Linked DNA regions of Homo sapiens: region 2 is linked to region 1. Evidence: promoter capture Hi-C in human tissues and cell types (Jung and others, 2019). All regions are on one chromosome and are shown on one strand. Each heading gives the region's core, a stretch centred on a gene start or on the middle of the fragment in contact. The rest is flanking DNA. Distances are from core to core; before and after follow the strand shown. Region 1 holds the start of MERTK (MER proto-oncogene, tyrosine kinase). Region 2 overlaps POLR1B (RNA polymerase I subunit B).

The links. The method cuts DNA at HindIII sites, captures the fragments that hold promoters and counts their contacts. A contact is called where the count stands out against the background at its distance.
Region 2: a fragment that was not itself captured here is called in contact with the fragment with the promoter of MERTK in region 1 in 1 of the 25 tissues and cell types used here (liver).

Annotation. Positions count from the first base shown.
Region 1 is chr2:111,897,357-111,902,580 of GRCh38, reverse strand. MERTK (MER proto-oncogene, tyrosine kinase) reads right to left here and starts at 3,974. Exons shown (of 19, transcript NM_006343.3): 1 at 3,785-3,974. The coding sequence starts at 3,845. RefSeq lists an enhancer at 4,506-4,835. The HindIII fragment of the contact is 10,682 bases long and covers 1-5,224 here.
Region 2 is chr2:112,570,855-112,575,841 of GRCh38, reverse strand. POLR1B (RNA polymerase I subunit B) reads right to left here. Exons shown (of 15, transcript NM_019014.6): 13 at 3,084-3,280; 14 at 2,027-2,280; 15 at 1-995. The coding sequence ends at 113. Among named protein-coding and RNA genes, the nearest start is that of CHCHD5, 11 kb to the left of the region's middle. The HindIII fragment of the contact is 7,111 bases long and covers 1-4,987 here.

The sequences.
Region 1 (5,224 bases), core at 2,725-5,224:
GAAGAGTCACTGCAAAGGCTGCTCAGGCCCTAGAAAGAAGACACAGGTGGCTGGAGTGGTAGGAACAAGAGGGAAGTGAATGGAAATGGGTCAAAGAGGTTCGCTGTGAGTCTCTGCAAATTCTAGTAGGGAACAGGAAGCCACTGGAAGATTTTCAAATGGAAAATACAATCAGATTCGTTTCCAAAATCTCATTCTGGCTATTATATGGAAAGCGACTGTTTCACATGTGTGTTCAAGGTCCCAGCTCAGTTTTTCTACCCAGCAGCATGTTCCCAATTCACAGGCATAAAAAGATTGAACCTCTTCTTGACCAATGCTGACTAGTAACTCACTGGCCCTTCTACAATTATCTGGAAATTATTTCAAAAATTAAGATTTAAAAATATAATTATTGGCTGGGTGTGGTGGCTCATGCCTGTAATCCCAGCACTTTGGGAGGCCAAGGCAGGCAGATCACCTGAGGTTGGGAGTTCGAGACCAACCTAACCAACACGGAGAAACCCTGTCTCTACCAAAAATACAAAATTAGCCAGGCGTGGTGGTGCATGCCTGTAATCCCAGCTACTCAGGAGGCTGAGGCAGGAGAACTGCTTGAACCCGGGAGGCGGGAAGTTGCGGTGAGCCGAGATTGTGCCATTGCACTCTAGCCTGGACAGCAAGAGTGAAACTCTATCTCAAAAACAAAAAAACATAATTATTGTTAATTTTTTAAAAATTGTATTCAGCTGTGCATGGTGGCTCATGCCTATAATCCCCACACTCTGAGAGGCTAAGGTGGGAAGATCGCTTGAGCCCAGGAGTTCAAGACCAGCCTGGGCAACATAGTGAGATCCTGTCTCTACAAAAAATAAAAAATTAGCCAGGCATGGTGGTATGTGCCTGTGGTCATAGCTACTTGGGAGGCTGAGGTGGGAGGATCACTTGAGCCCGGAAGGTTGAGGTTGCAGTGAGCCGTGATGGTGCCACTGCACTCTAGCCTGGGTGGCAGAATGAGAACCTGCCAAAAAAAAAAAAAAAAGAAAGAAAGAAAAGAAAAGAATTCCACTCAGCACTTTAATGGGTCAGAATAATTTTCTAAAAGTATTCATTTTTAAAATATGCACGATGTACTTTCAAAAAGCATTTGAAGCCTTTGGAATAAAGCCCACAAGCAACAGAACAACTTAAAAGTTCCCTCTGGGAAGATGTTTACAATATACTGGAATACATGTTACAATATCAGTTTGGAAAAGAAATATTAACATTAAAGAATCTTAAAAGCCTAATTTACTCTAAGGGTTGAGTTTAGCTGCACACACAGCCTCGTCATGAGCTAAGTCCTCATAATGCATTCATTTTTATCCACATTTATATTTATCTTGCTCCATCCTCTCCCTGGCCCTTCAGAGAGCCACCGCTTGCCTCATTTTGCTGCTCAATGGCACCCCCATCAGAGACTGAGCAGAAAGGAAAGACTGGAAAGCCTCGAAATGCTCCTGGTTTGGCAGTTCCAGTTCTGTGTGTGCATGTCTTTGTGAGACGTGTAGTGTGTATGTGTGTTGGGGGGCAGAGGGGATTTCCTGGGTTAAAGTGATGCTTAAATTTTATTTACCCATTCTTCTATACTGCTAACAGTGTAGAATCTACACACATATTCTCATTGTCTCTCTCTCTGTCTCCCCTGTGTGGTCAGCAAAGCACTCAGACCCACAATGTGTAATAGGAAAATCTTAAAATTAGATGAAGAGTCTAATTTCCATGTTTAATTTCTTCATACAGCACTCCTTTGTGCTGTAATTCTGCCAGTGAGAATCCCATTCTTTAAGCTTTTCACAAGGTGAGATGTAAAACTGTCACACATCTCATAGGTAAAGTTCAAAACCAAAAGCAAAAAGTGCAAGAACGATTGGTGAAACTTTTCATTCTTCCAGCTGGGTGGATTTTAAAAGGCCTTTTTATGATTGTCTGATTAAAGTTGATTGTCAGCTACAAAAATTTGTTATTACAGCCTTTTAAAATTTTAGAAAAACAAAAGCACTCCAATTTTTAAGTATTTAACACAAAACTATTGTTCCCATTACTTTCTCCATAGTTCTCACCACATTCACTACCTCCAAGACTATTCACGGCCAGTCCTCACTAGTAGCAACAAATAACAGATTTGCAGCAGATTATGAAAAATGGGGCTGGCAGAAATGCTGAGGAATTTTTGAAGGTTTGGTGGAGGGAGGGGCAGTGGAGAACAGAACTGCTTTAGTTCTTTGCCTGGCTCTTAAAGTTTGTTTCAAATTGCTATGTTGCCCCAAATTATAAATTGCTTATGTAATTTAACGTGCAAAAAGTGGGTGCACTGTTTAAGAATTTTTCATTTGAGTAAATGAGCTTTCAAAGGAAAATCTCAAAGGAAAAACTTTTAAGTAACTTACTTGACTATAAACTGAGCTTTCCAGGTATTCCTAAAAAACATCTTTGACTGTAATAGGTGAAGGCTAGTCAAGTGCATTCTCGATCAAAAGAGAGAAAATCTACATGCTGAATGGAAATAGAAACCTTTTAGCTGAGAGAAAATACTTGGAATGTGTTTATTTAGCATTTTTCCCCTTTCTTTTTCTTTTGGGTAAAGCCTGGTAAGTTTATTCCAGCCTCCTCAAGAAGTGCATCAGCGATCAAACTTGAAATCTGTTCATCACTCACTCCCCAAATAAGCTGTTCAAGCAGAATGAAACCGGCCTTCCTTGCCTCCACGTATCAGTCCAGCATCTTGTATTAAAATGCCTGGAACAAGCCGGGCGCGGTGGCTCACGACTGTAATCCCAGAACTTTGGGAGGCCAAGGAGAGCAGATCACGAGGTCAAGAGATCGAGACCATCCTGGCCAACATGGTGAAACCCCGTCTCTACTAAAAATACAAAAATTAGCCGGACGTGGTAGCGCGCGTCTATAGTCTCAGCTACTCGGGAGGCTGAGGCAGGAGAATCGCTTGAACCCGGGAGGCGGAGCCTGCAGTGAGCCGAGATCGCGCCGCGGCACTCCAGCCTGGGCGACAGGGCGAGACTCGGTCTCAAATTAAAAAAAAAAAAGCCTGTAACAACACTTCGCTGAATCCAGATAAACGTAAACGCTGCCGAGCACTGTAAGTTCTGTTCTGCCATAACAGGAGTGAAAAGAACGCTCCCCTTTTCCCACACTCTCTGGGTGCCCCTAAAAAGGGATACTAATAATGCCCGTAAGGGCCCATTGGGAGCAGCCAGGACTGCCGTCCCCCCCTGGCCCGTCGCTCGGCCTCAGTCTATCGCGGCTCCCGGACTGCGGCTCCGACTCCCGCAGCCCGTTCGTTCGCCCCGCGCCGGTCCCTCGGGAGACCGGATCTGTGGCCCCCGGGACTCCGGCCAGAGCGGGGCCCCACCATGCAACTCTAGTGGAAAGTTCTCGTCGCATCCCAGACCAGACCTGCTACCTACGTTCCACTCGTCGGAACTTCAGGACTTGCAGCGCGCCCGGCCGAGCTCGATTTCCTCCTCTGCGGTGAAGAGGGGAGCCTGCAACGCCGACCCCGACCCGGCTTCACCACGATGCGCACCCGCAAGCCAGGCTGGGTGCCCTCGGGACGCTTGAGGCGCCGCGGTCAGTGGACGGTAGGTTCGCCTACGCCCCCTCCTCTGGCACCGCAGTGGGTGGAGGGTGTTTGCAAACTTGTCCAGCAGCCAGGCGCGCCCCTGTGGACGCGCTCCCTCCCCAGAGGCCCCTGCTTCCTCCTGGGAGCCCCCACCCCCTCGCCTGGCCCCCAGCCGGGCGCACTCACCTCTACGCCAGAGCGCGGGGAGGAAGAGGCCCAGCAGCAGCGGCAGCGGGGCCGGCCCCATCCCGGGGCTGCGGATCTGTAATTTCTCTCCGGACGGATGGACAGATGGACGTCCCGAACCTGTCCTGTCGCCGGCCAAGCGCGCCAGCGAAGCTCCCTGTCCGGGCGGCCCGGGCAGTGAGTGCCGAGTGGCGGAGCCAAGCGGCCGGCGGGAGGTGCCGAGGGCTGGAAGGGGCGGGCCGGGGGCCGAGCCGAGGCCGGCCGGGGCTGGAGGAGAGGAGCGGGCAGGGGGGCGAGTCCCGGCGGGCCCAGCAGGTTGGGGTGGGAGGGGGCGGGAGGACGAGGGGGAGGAGGGGCGTAAAGGGGAAAGGGAGGGGGTTGGAGAGAAGGGGCGGGCCGAAGGCCGCCGCTGGGCAGACGGCGGGGAAGGGGGCGGAGAGGAAGGGGAGGGGGCTGAGAGACCCGGAGGGAGCCGGAAAGAGAAGTGAAGGGGAGGGGTGGACTGGAGGTCCACAGCGGAAGGCTCTGGCCGCTGCGCGGGTCCGGGGCCCCACACGTGTGGGTGGGAGATGGGGAAGGACAGAAGGTGGGAGAGGAGTAGAGGATGCCCGAGGCAGCCCCCAGACCCAAGAGGAGGGTCCAGAGGCGCCCCCGCATTCCGGGCTTGGCTGACACAGAAAACCCTGGCCGCGCCGCTCCCAGAGGCCAAGGCCAGGGCGGCAGCGCTCCCTGCCGAGCGCTCCTCCACATCCATTCCGCTCGCCGCCGAGCGCCGCCTGGGTACCCGGCCCGAGGTGCGCGACACGGCCCTGGCGGCGAGGAGCTCACCTCCCCAGGGGGAGGGGTTCCTGGGAAAGGACGCTTTGCCGTGGCTCCGTGACGAGCCAGAGAGAGGTGACACTCAAGGAGGGAGATGAACGTGAATGACAAAGTGCAGAGCAGGAGTGGGGAGAGGGGGAACCACAGCACGTCACTCTCATGGGCCTCCACAAGGTGTGCAGGGTCCAAGAGGCAGTAGCAGAGAGTGAGTCGTAAGAGAAATGTAACTACTTACGCTAATAATGGCAACAGTAACTTAATTTATATACGTAGTTTCTTAAAGGTAACACTTTTAGAATGAATGTATTTTAATGTGGTCCCTTTAACAACATAACATAAGCCAAATCATGTCCCTCTCCTCAAATCTCCCTAAACCTATCAGTGGTTCCTGCTGTCTCTGCGTACGTAAGCCAAGGTTCTGCAGTGGTCTACGAGGTTCTACGTGACCTGGTCCCCTTTCCTCTTTGGCCTCATCTCCTTACGCCTCTTCAATTTACGTTGGTCTCGTCAAGCGGTCCCTTGACCCCTACACTGGCTGGACACTTCCCGTAGATTTGGCTACGGGAAGGAGACAGGCAGCCCAGATGGGTTTAGACAGGTTATTACTTACACCGACAGCAA
Region 2 (4,987 bases), core at 1,326-3,825, 670 kb before region 1:
CTAACACCGTTGAAAAATCTCAAGAGTAACCTGGTAATGATATCTTCATTGAATTAAAATTACATTTTGCTTTAATCTGATAGTCCTCTTAATCCAAAAGGTCAACATCAAGTTAAACAACATCCAGTTTCACTTTGATGTTCATAGCTGCCAGTTCAGCTACAAAATACCGAAAAACATAAGGCACAGAAACAGTATCGATAGTGTCACTGCGACTACACAGAGTACAGTTGTATTTTCTGTTGCGCATGGCAGACCAAGAAGGGGGTGGCTTCTCCAACAGTGGAGAGAGTAAACTGCCACACTTCACACACACATGGGCTACCGACCGATCTGAGCAGTTGAAGAGGCGGTCATGAAGGAGAAAAGATGTACCATGAGCTAAAAGCGCATCCCGTTCCATCTCCCCAAAACGGATTCCACCCTGGACATTTCTTCCCCCAATAGGCTGGTTGGTGACTCTGTCTCGGGCTCCAGTTGTCCTTACTTGAAATTTGTCTGAGACCATATGGCGTAAGCGCTGATAATAAACCACTCCTATGAAGATGTCTGCTTCCAGTTCTAGCCCACTGATGCCACTATATAACCTCTCGGTGCCATAGAAATTGTAGCCAGCAGCCTTTAACATCTCACCAAAGTATTCTAAGGCCGAGTTCTCCTCTGAGAAGATGAAGGGTGTAGCATCATGGCAGAGACCATGCAAAGCTGCAGACTTCCCGGCCATACTCTCAATTAACATCCCAATGGTCATGCGGGATGGAAAACCATGGGGATTGAACAGAATGTCTGGGACCATCCCACTCTCAGTAAAAGGCATGTCCTCAGCCGGCCACAATCTGCTTAAAATGCCCTTCTGCCCATGGCGACTGGCAAATTTATCTCCGATAGTTGGGTTCCGAGGCACTCTCATAGTGATGCAAACACACTTGAATTTTCCACTCCCAGTGTCATTACTGCACACTTTGATGTTATCCACAACACAATTTTCTTTACTCCTAGGAAAAAGTAAACCATATAAGGTCAACCTATTTGTTTTAACTTATGGAGATAAGTTTCATTGATATAATTAGTGCTTCATAAAGGATATTTGTAAAACTTTTTTTTTTTTTTTTTTTTTTATGATACAGGGTCTCACTCTGTTGCCCAGGCTGGAGTGCGGTGGTGCAATTACAGCTCACTGCAGCCTTGACTTTCCGGGTTCAAGCAATCCTCCCACCTCAGCCTCCTGAGTAGCTGGGACTACAGGTATATGCCACTAGGCCTGGCTAGTCTTTAAATTTTTTTTGTAGAGATAGGGCCCCACTACATTGCCCAGACTGATCATGAACTCCTGTGCTTAAGGAATCCTCCTGTTTTGGTCTCCCAAAGTGTTGGGATTGCAGGTGTGAACTACTGTGCCTGGCCTGCAAAACTCATTCTTACCTTTATTCTCCAATACAAACAGAGATGGTATGAATAGAGCTATTGGTGATATTCACTACAGAATTATGTTCATCTGAAAGAAAACTAGCAACAAAAGCAACTGAAAAATTATTATGAAAGCCTATTGAAATAAATTATATTGTAAAATAAGCTAAAATAAGACATTTCTAATAAGAGGTATGAGCTCAACATTTTGGCTAGGAAACATTGCTAACATTGTATGTGAGAAAGATGACAAAGTTTGGATAATACAGTTTTTAAAAAAAGCACAAATAGGCCAGGGATGGTGGCTCAGGCCTGTAATCCTAGCACTTTGGGAGGCTGAAGCAGGTGGATCACTTGAGCCCAGGAGTTCGAGACCTACCTGGGCAACATGGTGAAACCGTCTATACTAAAAATACAAAAAATTAGCTGGGCATGGTGGTCCATGCCTGGAGTCCCAGCTACTCAAAGGCTGAGGCGAGAGGATTGCTTGAGCCCGGGAGGTGGTGGTTGTAGTGAGCTGAGATCACTCCACTGCACTCCAGCCCGGCTGACACACTGAGACCCTGTCTCAAAACAAAAACAAAAACAAAAACAAAACAGCTTGGATACCCAAACTTACTTATAGTACATCACAAAACTTTCCCCGGTGTTGAGGTTGAGGTAGCTGTAATACGGATCTCCGTACTGCAGTTTTGCTCCTATAAACGGCAATCCATCGTCATCTAACTTCTGCAGAACGCGTGGGTCACCAGGTTTGATGCCAAACACCAGGCTACTATCTCCTTGTTTAATTTTTTCAGAGAGGTCTATGAACTCAGACTTGTAGACACTTCCATGGGCAAAGCCTCGTTCCCAAGAGGCCTTATTCACAATCTGTGAAGTAAAAGAATCGTTAAAAGACTGAGGCCAATTGAGGATTTTCAAAATAAAACTAGGTGGGACTATCATACTTGGTTTAGGATAACTGGCATCACATTTTAACTTTCCTCACATTTTCCAAATCACTGATACTAACTACAAAAACCCAGACATGGCTGGGCACGGTGGCTCACGCCTGTAATTCCAGCACTTTGGGAGGCCAAGGCAGGTGGATCACTTGAGGTCAGGAGTTCGAGACCAGCCTGGCCAACATGGTGAAACCCCATCTCTACTAAAAACACGAAAATTAGCCAGGCATGGTGATGGGTGCCTGTAGTCCCAGCTATTCGAGAGGCTGAGGCAGGAGAACTGCTTGAACCCAGAAGGTGGAGGTTGCAGTGAGCCAAGATCGTGCCACTGCACTCCAGCCTGGGCAACAGAGCGAGACTCCGTCTCAAAAATAAAAAACAAAAAACAAACAAACAAAAAACAAGAAAAACAAAAACCCAGGCACACAGAAATAGCTTAAAATCTAATCATACTTAAATATAAAAGGTAGATAGATCCAAAACCAAACTTCAAAATTTACTCATAATATGCACTCAAATATGCAAGACATACGTGTATCTGAATATTTAGTGGATATTCCTCAAGGCTTGCCCACTTTCAACTTAGACTAAGAACTAATCATTTAATAGAACATCACGTGCCAAATACTAGGTACTTGGGTACACAAAAATATTCCTTCAGTGATTTCACAGTAAACAAACAAGTTAAAAAATAAAAAGATTGGAACAACATTTCCTGGTAAAACTTACCATGGCATCTTCCATATCATAGCCAGTGTAAGAAATCACAGCAACGATGGCATTGGTCCCAATTGGATAGTTATCCATGTCATAATAATCATACATGGAGGGTCTCACCAAGGGACTCTGAGGAGTCTGAAGACGATACAGTTTGTTATCCGATCGGTCTTGATAAGTGAGAAGTGGAAAGCCCATAGTTTGCTTACCTACATGGAGAAAAAACATCTTAGCATTTTCTGCTGCTTTCATCTTGATTATAGGTGTGATACGCAACACTGGAAACAACTAAATATCCATCAGAGGAAAATGAACAAATAAATAGTCATGGTAGTTATGCTTACTTTAGACTAATACATAAGCTGTGAAAATGAAGTAAACCTAAATGTATCAACGTGACCAGACCAGGAAAACCATGCTGAGTGGGAGAAAGTGCAGACTGACATTTAATATGATACGATTTATGTGTATTTGCAACACACCCCAAACAATTCTATACTTAGTTTATGGATACATGTATGATGTAATAAAAGCTTTAGAAGGGGACAGAAAGGAAGTACGCAAATTACAGGCTATCACTACTCGGGGAAGAAAAGGGGATAGGAATTATTACGTAATTAGATTACTTTCTTACAGCGGAATATGTATTTAATTCTAAGTAGTGGAGCATGGGGTGAGATTCCTCTGTGTACTACCTCACAGTACAGAGAATCATTTCACGACAAAATGATTTTAAAATATAAATACATACAAGTGAAATTTTTAAAAAAATTATAGACTTAGAGCTTCCAGTAATAAAGGGCTACTCTTACTAGACCACCCTCAACACATAAGTATGAGACGCAGACCCCCAACTACACATACAGCACTGGAGAGTAACCAAAAGCTGTCAGAAGCTGAGAAGAATTTTTACTTGGACAAAAGGAACACACTGGGTGAATTTCCAGGTTTTTAAGTATTTATGTATTTATTTTTGCCTTATGGCCCAGTGTGGCAGCTACAACTTAGATAGAAACCCACAATCTTACTGGCTTGAAGAACCAAGAAATAGAGTTCTGAGCATGACAACAATTGGGAAGGGGGAACATTTCAGAAATGAGAGAACCACAAAGGGAGACCCTTAAATTCAGCATATAAATTGGGTCCGAATCTTTGGTGGACTCCTGAACTATGCATGCATGGGACAGATCACAGCAGCCCACCTAAGGCTGAAGAATGTACTTCAACTGCCACGTTCACCAAGTTAAGTACCAGTGAAAACTAAAAACCAATCCTCTTCCCCTGGAGAATTTTTGGTGACATGCACTGAACCAGGTGATGGACTGTGTATTAAGAAGGAAAGACATAAAATGAAAAAAATTAAAATGTAATTGAAGGCCAAACACCACACTAAAAACAAACAAAACCAATCCTCTTCAGAGGACCCTAACAGGATCCAGGGTTTAAAACATACTCCTCGCAATGTTCATAATACAATCCGATATTACTGGGCATACAAAGAAATGGTGAAACTTGACTTATACTCAAAGAGACTGATACTAAGATGACCCAGACATTGGAATCTGCAGATAATGATTTTACAACACCCATCATATAAAACTATGTTCAAAATATAAAGGAAAACATGCCCACAATGAATGAAGATAAGAAATCTTAGAGAAGAAAGAAACTATAAAAAAAGAAACAAGTCAGGCCAGGCGCAATGGCTCATGCCTGTAATCCCAGCACTTTGGGAGGCTGAGGCAGGCAGATCATTTGAGGTCAGGAGTTTGAGACCAGCCTGGCCAACATGATAAAACCCTGCCTCTACTAAAAATACAAAAAATTAGCTGGGCATGGTGGCACATGCCTGTAATCTCAGCTACTCAGGAGGTAGAGGCAGGAAAATTGCTTGAACTGGGGAGGCAGAGGTTGCA